Regions from separate parts of the Homo sapiens genome. Here all the other regions are linked to region 3. The links are contacts of gene promoters, found by promoter capture Hi-C in human tissues and cell types (Jung and others, 2019). All regions are on one chromosome and are shown on one strand. Each heading gives the region's core, a stretch centred on a gene start or on the middle of the fragment in contact. The rest is flanking DNA. Distances are from core to core; before and after follow the strand shown.

Region 1 (3,352 bases), core at 34-2,533, 77 kb before region 3:
CATGCCTGGCTAATTTTTGTATTTTTAGTAGAGACCAGGTTTCGCCATGTTGGCCAGGCTGGTCTCAAACTCCTGACCTCCAGTGATCTGCCCACCTCAGCCTCCCAAAGTGCTGGGATTACAGGCGTGAGCCACTGCACCTGGCCAGAAAAGACCAGTTTTGATGAAGTCATTTAGACTTTAAAATAGAACACGTTATTGTTCATTACTGAGATTGAACATAGATAAAAATGTTTCCCCTCATTTTCAAGATAAAAATATAAATCCAATTAAAAAGAATTAATTCATTACCTTTTTCTTTTTTTGTATCATAATATTAATTTTAATTTTATTAACAATGTTTTTTCTGGCATAATCATACAGAGAGAGTTAAAATCAATTTTCACTGTGTTTATTTTCTGGCCATTATTATGATTTATTTCATTGCACGGCTATTACTAAAAATAATTTTGGCCTCTTGGGGGTGGGTGGGCTAACAATGATATGCTGTTGATGTCAAATATGCTAAGTATGCCACTGCTGAAAGACTCAGCGTTTGAGTTTAGTGATAAAGTGACAAGAGGAAGAAGAAGTATTATAGAAAAGAGAAAAGTAGAAGAGGATTAGTGGTGACTCTGTGATTCCGAGTCCTTGTTTTGTTCAGAGAGTGGCTGCCTATGTGAATTGAAAGAGTCTACCTTCAGCACCATTTTGGTTTCAGGAGTGAGAGGAAAGCCATTGTTTCTTCCATTTGTTGGCCATTCCTTTAACGGGAAAGAAAGCTTTTAATTACACAATCAGAACCATAAGGCATATGGCCGGGCGCAGTGGCTCACACCTGTAATCCCAGCACTTTGGGAGGCCGAGGTGGGTGCATCACATGCGGTCAGGAGTTCGAGACCAGCCTATCCAACATGGTGAAACCCCGTCTCTATTAAAAAAATACAAAAGTTAGCCAGGCGTGGTGGCACACGCCTGTAATCCCAGCTACTTGGGAGGCTGAGGCAGGAGAAATGCTTGAACCAAGGAGGCGGAGGTTGCAGTGAGCCGAGATTGTGCCATTGCACTCTAGCCTGGACAAGAAGAGCAAAACTCCATCTCAAAAATAAATAAATAAATAAATAAATAAATATAAGGCATAAAATGTGGATGCCTTCCATTTCCTTAACAAATATTTTTAACTGTCTAATATATGATAATGTTCTCATCGCTGAAATCCAGCAATGAACCAAACAAAGCCCTGTCTTTAGAGAACTTACATTCTACTGGGGAAGACAGACAATGTAAAAATCAAGTAAGAAATAATGTAGTAACTCAGAATAGGGTAAGTGTGAAAAAAGAAAAATAGAGCAGGAAGGGAGATGGGAATGAGGGGGAGAATATATATATATATACATATTAATACTTTAGTGAGGTATGATTTATACATGTTAAAATGCATAAATCTTAAGTGTACAGCTTGAGATACGTCTACACACACACGCACAGACACAAGTGTGATCTCCATTCACATCAAAATATAAGATAGTTCCATTATCTCAGAAAATTATCTCGTGCCCTTTTGTCATCAGTGCCCACACCCTACATGCAACTTCTCTTCCGATTTCCAACAGCAGAGATTAGTATTACATATTCTTGAACGTCACATGAAATCTTACAATATGTACTTTTTTTGTGTCTGGCTTCTTTCAATCACCATAAATAATATTTTCACGACTCATTCATGTTCTAACGTGTATCTGTTGTTTGTTCTTTTTATCACTGAATAGTATTCCATTGTGTGAATAGACCATAATTAGTTTATGCATTCTCTTGTTGATGGACAATTGAGTTATGTCCACTTTTGACCTATCATGAATAAAGCTTTAATCAGTATTTCTGGAAAAGTCTTTTAGTGGACACACTTACCTGTTTCCCTTGGTTAGGAGTAGAATCTGTGGGTCACAGGTAACTCTGTGTTTAACTTTATCAGCAATTGCCAGTTTTTTCAAAGAGGTTGTACTATTTTACACTCACATCAGCAATATAATTCCACTGCCTCCCACCTACCCCAACATCTGCCGGGCTTGCACTGAATCTAAATATTAGTTTAGGGAGAACTGAAATCTTAATACCCCTAAGCTAGTCCATTCCATGAAGATTGTATATCACTCTTATTATGTCTCCTTTATCTCAGCAATGTTTTTAATTTTTAGGTTTGAGTACTCTCCACTCAAAAGTATTTAATGTCATTTATTCTAAGTGGTAACTTAAAAAAATTTAATTTTCTAATTGTTTTTTGTTGGTATATACAGATATAATTGATTTTTCTGCATTGCCCTTGTAACCCACAATCATGCTAAACTCAAATTAGTTCTAGGAACTTGTTGGTTCCTTAGGATTTCTATGTACAAAGCGATGTTATCTTTGAATAACAGTCTAAATTATTTCTTTCCAATTTTTATTATCTCTTTTTGGTGCCTTATTGCACTGGCTACAACCACTAGTACAATATTGAACAGAAGTGGTAAGAGTAGACATCGTTACTGTATTTCTGACTTAGGAGGACAACATTCAACAGTCTATTATTAAGAATGATAGTAGCTGCACGTTTTTTGTTGCCACGTTTTATCCAGTTGAGAAAATTCCCTCTATTATTGGTTTGTGGGTATCATGGAGTAGTATCCCATCCTGTGAATATAGCATAATTAGTTTATATATTCTCTTGTTGATGGACAATTGACTTTTATCTATGACCCAGTATTGACTTTTTTGTTTGTCTGTTTGTTTTTATTTTGAGATAGAGTCTTGCTCTGTTGCCCAGGCTGGAGTGCAGAGGCTGGATCTTGGCTCACTGCAACCTCCACCAGTTGGCCAGGCTGGTCGCGGACTCCTGACCTCAAGTGAGCCACCTGCCTCAGCCTCCCAAAGTGCTGGGATTACAGGCGTAAGCCACCGCACCTTCCCAGTATTGACTTTTATCTAGAGCTTTATTTTCAGATACTGAGATAATTGAATGTTTTGCCTCTTTATTCTGCTAATGTGGTGAATTACATTGTGTTAGTCCATTTGTGCTGCTATAACAGAATACCACAGACTGGGTAATTTATAAAGAATAGAAATTTATTCTCCCAGTTCTGTAGGCTGGGAAGTTCAAGATGAAAGCACTGTTCTTTCAGGGTGGAAGGTGAAAGCGTGAGGAAAAGGGAACCCACTCCAGCAAGCCCGTTTAATAGCAGCATTAATTCATTCATGAGGGTGGAAGCACCATGTCCTAAATACCTCCCATCAGGCCCCAGTTCTCAGTACTATTGCATTGGGGGTAAAATTTCCAATACATGAATTTTTGAGGAACCATTAAAATCATAGCTGTTAAAGTATTTTTCTATCCTAG
Region 2 (3,533 bases), core at 1,021-3,520, 99 kb after region 3:
CACTGGGTAGACACATGGATATCATGACTTCCTGGAGGATACCATTAAACATCTTTCCTATCTGATATTTTAGGAAGAGAGGCTGGAAAGGGGATTCCTGTTTAACGATTTCATTTCCAGGACGTTTTATGCCAAATTCAATCTATTTGAGACTGGATTTGAGAGGTCCTGGTGGCAGGAAGATGAGATTGAAAATTGCACAATCATAACCTAAATGATCACAGGGTCAACAAGTGATAACAGAGTCTGATTTTGAGAAACCTTTCTGCATATGCAGAATAGACAAAAAAAGAAGAGGGAGAGATTCAGGTAGTGAGCTATTGAGGATCAATCTAAGATAATTAGCTGGAAAGATAGATTTGTAATGACTGTAATGATCAAAGTAGGGAGTATAGGAGCTTTTACTTCTGGCTGTTAAGTTCAGACCAAGCCTCTTGAGAGTAATGAAAATAAAACAAAGTCTACCAAACACCTGTGTGAGGACACTGGAGCAGGTCCTCCCTGCCACGAAGGCAGGGAGAATTTAAAGGACTAAAGCCCAGAAGGTGAAAAGAACCCATCAATTTGGGCTGGTTTTTGTCATAAAGAACTTGCCGAATACAAAAGCAAAATTTGGCTGAGAGGCAGAGAAGCTGAGCAGAGCTTCCAGCAATCCCTGGAAAAACCAGTTTTCAAAAGAACTGAAGGCCAACTTTGAATCCCTGGAAAAACCAGTTTTTAAAAGAACTGAAGGGGCTGGGCGTATGGCTCACGCCTGTAATCCCAGCACTTTGGGAGGCTGAGGCAGGTGGATCACGAGATCAGGAGATCAAAAGCAGCCTGACCAACATGGTGGAACCCCGTCTCTACTAAAAATACAAAAAAAAAAAAAAAAATTAGCCAGGCGTGGTGGCATGCACTTGTAATCCCAACTACTCAGGAGGCTGAGGCAGGAGAATCGCTTGAACTCAGGAGGCAGAGGTTGCAGATTGTGCCATTGCCCTCTAGCCTGGGTGACATGACAGAGAGACTCCGTCTCAAAAGAAAAAAAAAAAAGAACTGAAGGCCAACTTTGAAACATTTCCATCCTGAGCTGGATTTAGATCTGCCCTTAACTTAGATGCCCGATAGGAGCAGAAGGAAATCCCTTCTTGGGGATTCCCTTGGGGGAAGGTAACCTTATTCAGAGCCTTAAATCATCTCTATAAGTATCCACTCACAATGTCTGGCTCCATTTAATAACTTATTATCTGTAAATCTTTTGTCTTCCTTTCCTTTCTTTTTTTTGGACAAAAATCAGTCTCTTCAAATCCAGAGATGTATGAAAGTCACTGCTGCAGATTATGAGGTATAGAATCTGTATAGATGGCTGGTCCATGGAGGGTACAGCCATTATTACCTTAGTACCATTTTCACATTAAAAAAAAATGCATCAGTAACCATGACAATTACTCCAAATGGCCTATCCATCCCTTCAGGGCCAATTTAAGTAAACATCTTAGGCCAGGTGCAGTGGCTCATAACTGCAATCCAAGCACTTTGGGAGGCTGAGGTGGGTGGATCACTTGAGGCCAGGAGTTCGAAACTGGCCTGGCCAACATGGTGAAACCTCATCTCTACTAAAAATATAAAAATTAGCTGGGCATAACGGGGCATACTTGTAATCCCAGGTACTCAGAAGAATCACTGAGGCGGGAGAATCACTTGAACCTGAGAGGCAGAGGTTGCAGTGATCTAAATTGTACCACTGCACTGCAGGCTGGCTGACAGAGTGACTCCACCTCAAAAAAAAAAAAAAAGTAAACCTCTGGGGCTATAATACATTTTGTTGTCATAGAAGAGAACAGGCACACAGACATTTATTTATTGACTTGAATATTTATTATATTGTAATGTTCTTTTTATGGGCATATTTCTAAACTATGCACTGTATAGTTTAGAGCACTGTAGTCTTTTTTTGTTCCTGCTAGAGTGCTGGGCACAAAATAGGGCCTCAACAAAAAAAAATATTAAAGAAATGGATGCATGAAAGTAAACAAAAAAGTGTCATGTTTTCTTACTGAACTCAAAGAATTTATAGTCACTTTAGAAAGACAAGAAATATAAGTATGAATATTTATGATTGAATATCAGAATGAGTGATTTAGACAAATACTGTCATATATTAATGCAAGATCACTGTGGGATATAGTTTTTTGAAATATTTTGTGAAAAGAGGCAGAACTTGAGCTATAACTCTGAAGATGGCTGCAAAGGGAGGGTGAGACCAATTTGGGAGTGATGAGGCCAGGAAGAAAGGCAATAAGATTCAAGGCCAGCTGGGCTGGAGCAATGAACTTGTACTATTAGGTACGCAAGATAAAGAGGATAATTTCAGGTAGACAAGGAAGGATCTGATGCATGGAGATCTGGTTATCAGAGTAAAGTCCACAGACATTCTGTAGCTACCAGGAGCCCAAGAGCAATATTGCTAGCAAAGGAATTACAAATTGAATTTACTGTTTTAGGGAAAGTATTCGGACAGCATAATGAATGAAAGCAAGTTGGAGTATTAGGAGGGAGGGAGTAGTGTAGAAAAATCAGAGCAGGTAGGGGCTGGTTGTAGACAAGTAACTACAGAATGGTGACCAACTACAACATCAACGGTAGCTATGAAAATATCAAGAGAGAGATGCTTGACTATGAGCCCTTTGGGGACATGGCATTATCTTGTTTATCTTTGTATCTCCAGTGCCTATCTCATAGATGGTACCCAATAAATTGCTCTATGACTGAAGACTTGGTAGGACTTGGTTACTTGTTGACTTCCAGTTCTCTCATTGAAGGAGAAGAAAAATAAAGTCAAATGAGAAATCCTGCATCTGAAATACTCATGCTGCTACTGACAGAAAGATTTCAAAGAGAAATTGGATTGAGAAGATAAAAGCATCTTGGACAGGATGTGTTTGAGCTGACTTTAAGACAACTGGATACAGAAGACCTTTTGCTTGGTCTGGGGAAAATATAAATGCTAAGAGAAAATGAATTCTCTCAAAAAAGAAAAGCAACTGCAGTTTAAATCTGGCTTTTGTAAGAGATAGGGCTTCTCCAAGTCTATCTTCTCAGCAATTTTATTTTAACTTTCTTGTTGTGCTACGAGGGGGTTTGTCCTCTTTTTATAGATTCCTAAGCTTTTACTCATTCAGCACTTAATTGTGGGTCTGAGAACTTGGCAGCTTGGCGCTTGAGTCTCAAACTTCCTTCAGCTTTTACCCGGAAACATGAAAGGCTTAACTAGGAAGATTCTTAATCTGAAGTCCATGAAAGCGGTTTCCTAAAACTCTCAAAATTGTGAGATTTTGTACACGTTTCTGGGAAAAGAATCTGTGGCTTTCATCAGATTCTCCAAGAGTCTAGAACCTTCCACATGGACTAATGTATTTCTAAGGATCTTTCTGGCCCTGAGACTCTGGGATTCAATTGCCTATCCAGGATGCCTATCCAATCACCTTCCAAGATGGCATGGTTATCCCAAGCATAGGTGTGAGTCTGGCTCAGATTTACCTGAAATTTAC
Region 3 (3,318 bases), core at 126-2,625:
ATTGGATCACTCTCCTGCAACAGATGAGATACTCGTAAATGAGATACTAACCAATATGATCTAGACCGTGGTTTAGTTCTGGCTGCCATAAGAAGGATACCATAGGCTGGGTGACCGAAAGAACAGAAATTTATTTTTCACAGTTCTGGAGGGTAAGAAACCCAAGATCAGTGTGCCAGCATGGTCAGGTTCTGGTGAGGGTCCTCTTCCTGCTTGGCAGAAAGCTGCCCTCGTGCTGTGTCTTTACACTGCACAGAGCAGAGAGAGAGGAGGCAAATTCCCCGCTGCCTGCTCTTATGAGGGAACTAATTCCACCAGGAAGCCTCCACCCCATGAACTAATCAGGTATGAAAGGCCCCACCTCCAGATACCACCACATTAGATTGGGGATTTGGGTTTCAACATATGAATTTTGTAGAGACACAAACATTCAGCCCATAGCAGTGTTAAAAGAAAAACATCAGACAAATTAAATTTAGCACAGTTTATTCGAGCAAAGGGTTCATGAATTGGGCAGCACTCACAACCAGAGGAGGTCCAGTGAGGTCCACCCCATGGTGTGAGCAGCAAAGCCTGATAGGCCAAACTCAGAAGCACAGTGGAGAAACTGATTGGCTATAGCTATGCAGGCTGCCTTGTGGGGCCTGGTATAATGAGTTGGTTGCCCATGATTGGCCAGTAGCCCCCTGTTCATTACAGCCTAATGTAGGTTTCCATTGTTAGGTGGGAACTCAACGTACAGAGACAGCCTCAAGCTAATGGCCTCTTGCTTATTTAAGAGCAGTATGCAAACTTTTCCTGGAAAGTTTCAAATGGTAAATATTTTAGGCCCTGTGGGCTATGCCACCTCTGTCATCACTACTCAATTCTGCCCTTGCAGCCCTAGATCATACAGCCATATGCAGTCACTGATAATACAAAGCCATGGGCATGGAGGTTTTCCAATAAAACTATTTGCAAATACAGGCAGGGGCTAAACGGGTCTCCAGGTAGTAATGTGCTCATGCCTAAAGGTCTCCTAGCCCCTCATACCAGTTCGCTGTCCCTCTGAATCTGGGTTGAAGTAAGCACAGGTTACTGCTTCTGTTCAGTGTCATGATCCACCCAGCAATTCCCCAGTCCCCAGCTTTCTTCATGCGTGGGAGGATCCAGCCAAGCGACTGCACAGTTTTGAAAGTTTTTGAAGCGGCCCCTTTTTCTCCTCTCCTCTCTCCGCAGGCAGAGTTGTGGTGTGGCTGGGTGGTCTGCGTGGGCGTCCGGGGGATTCGCGGGCACTCGGGACGAGGCGAGGGCGCAGAAAACTTGGAGCCCAATCAGCACGGAGTTGAGCTTCCGCGCCCCAACCTTCAGGTGACCCCGCGCGGCGGCGGCGGCAGCAGCAGTGGCAGCGGCGACCGGAGCCCGCAGCAGCTCCGAGCGCCTCCGGGAGGACAGGCGGCGAGCTCGGCGAATCGTCATCTGCCAGCCGATCGCGGCGCTCCGCGGGCCGGGGCCGGGAGCCCGGGGCGAGCCCGAACGCGGCTTCTTCTCCGCCCGCCGCGGAGACTCTGCCGGGTGGGCTGCGGGCGCCCCTCGCTGCCGCCTGTGAACGCTGTGGGTGCGCGGGGCTGCGGCCACGGCGGCGGTGGCGGCGGCGGCGGGAGCCGCGAGTCGGGGCCGCCCGGGCTGTGCTTCGCCCCGGCAGCAGCGGTGGCGGCGGCGCCTGTGGCTCAGGATGCGGCCGGGGGGCGCACTGCTCGCCCTGCTCGCCAGCCTGCTGCTGCTGCTGCTGCTGCGCCTGCTCTGGTGCCCGGCAGACGCGCCCGGCCGCGCCAGGTAACCCACCCACCCGCCGGCCGCGCCCCGCGCCGCGCGCCCCGCCTGGCGCCCCCGGACCCCCAAGCCGCCCATCGCTTCCCCTCGGGCGCGGAGACTTTTGGCCGCGGCGGGGAGCAGCCCACGGGCGGCGACGGCCTGAGAGTGGAGTGGGGGAGGGGGTCGCAGGGAGGCGACCCTCCGACCGGTGGACGGCGGCTGGGGAGCAGAGGGACCGGTCAGGGCTGCGGGGGCTCTAGCGCGCATCGCTGTGGGCGAGGCAGCTGTGGAGCGGGACCTGCCGTCGGGTTCCGCATCAGGATCTCATGCTCCCCATTCTGGTCCTTGCTGTCTCTTCCTTCCCGCCCTAAGGCTCTTCCAACTCTGGGGCTGGGGACCTGGCCTGGGAGCCGGGGAGTGCGAGATCTCCCTGCCAGGCAAGGAGCGCGACTCCCAGCCTTTCAGCCAACAGCTCCCGGCGGGGTGTAGCAACTTAAGTTTTCTCCCCGGCTGTGCAGGATTCTGGTGGAGGAAAGCAGGGAGGCCACCCACGGCACCCCCGCAGCGCTGAGGACGCTCCGGAGCCCGGCGACCGCGGTACCGCGCGCCACTAACAGGTACAGCGGCGCCCAGCGCGGGCGGACTGGGGCTCGGGAGCTGCGAGCCGGGCATGGGGCGCGGCTGCACCGGCTTGGACTCGTTGGGAGTAGGCAGGCTGGGACGGCGCGAGTGAGTGTAAGAGTGTGCGTGTGTTTGAAGAGGGCGCGGGGTTGGGGGGGGGCACCCTTCACACTCCCTCAACCCTCTAAGCCTGGATGTGAATGGTCTTTGAATCAAGGGGGATCCTCCAGCAGCTGCATTTGAAAAACGGGTGCTGAGTTTTCCTCTCGACAATGGTGTGTTGAAAGCACCCCCGCCCCCGACCCCGCCACCTTTGGAGAGAAGCAGCTCAGCCTGTCTTTATGGAGGGATTTGGTTGGTTTGCTTTTTCTTTTCTATGCTTTAAAGGGCACCGGTGTTAAGATTCAGGTTTGTTTTGCGTGCTAGGAATGATTTTGTCCTTAGTGACTGGAGGCTTAAATTTTTTTTCTTATCATTCACATGTGTTTTTATTCATAGGCAGTAATTGTTTTTTTTTCAGATTGTAAAAGTAATACAGCTTTGTGCAGAAAGTTAGAAAATAGAACTGTATAAAAGAAAATGTTATTCATTCAGAGTCCTTACCTCTCAGAGACCATATTCAAGGTGGTTTTGGTCTATATTTCTTCCAGTAGTCTTTTCTATATACATATATTTCAAAAATATAACTTAGATTATACATTGCAGTTTATGTTCTGCCTTTTTTCTAAAAATCCTAGACCTATACCTGTCATTACATTCCCCTCCCCCCACAAAAACATTGCTTTGGATTGTTGCATAACTTATTATCTGAACATGCCATAATCTATTTAATAGTTTCCATTTTCAGACATTTAGGTTGCTTCTTGTTTCTGTTTTATTTTGTTTGCCATCAGTAATTCTATG

What was found. The method cuts DNA at HindIII sites, captures the fragments that hold promoters and counts their contacts. A contact is called where the count stands out against the background at its distance.
Region 1: a contact is called between a fragment that was not itself captured here and the fragment with the promoter of ST8SIA6 in region 3, in 2 of the 25 tissues and cell types used here (H1 embryonic stem cells and IMR-90 fibroblasts).
Region 2: a fragment that was not itself captured here is called in contact with the fragment with the promoter of ST8SIA6 in region 3 in 2 of the 25 tissues and cell types used here (aorta and spleen).

What each region holds. Positions count from the first base shown.
Region 1 is chr10:17,529,912-17,533,263 of GRCh38, reverse strand. No RefSeq gene overlaps it. Among named protein-coding and RNA genes, the nearest start is that of ST8SIA6, 77 kb to the right of the region's middle. The HindIII fragment of the contact is 5,175 bases long and covers 1-3,352 here.
Region 2 is chr10:17,354,635-17,358,167 of GRCh38, reverse strand. The region is part of intron 4 of ST8SIA6 (ST8 alpha-N-acetyl-neuraminide alpha-2,8-sialyltransferase 6); the gene reads left to right. Among named protein-coding and RNA genes, the nearest start is that of ST8SIA6-AS1, 31 kb to the left of the region's middle. The HindIII fragment of the contact is 4,443 bases long and covers 49-3,533 here.
Region 3 is chr10:17,452,652-17,455,969 of GRCh38, reverse strand. ST8SIA6 (ST8 alpha-N-acetyl-neuraminide alpha-2,8-sialyltransferase 6) reads left to right here and starts at 1,375. Exons shown (of 8, transcript NM_001004470.3): 1 at 1,375-1,815; 2 at 2,313-2,411. The coding sequence starts at 1,715. The HindIII fragment of the contact is 8,458 bases long and covers 1-3,318 here.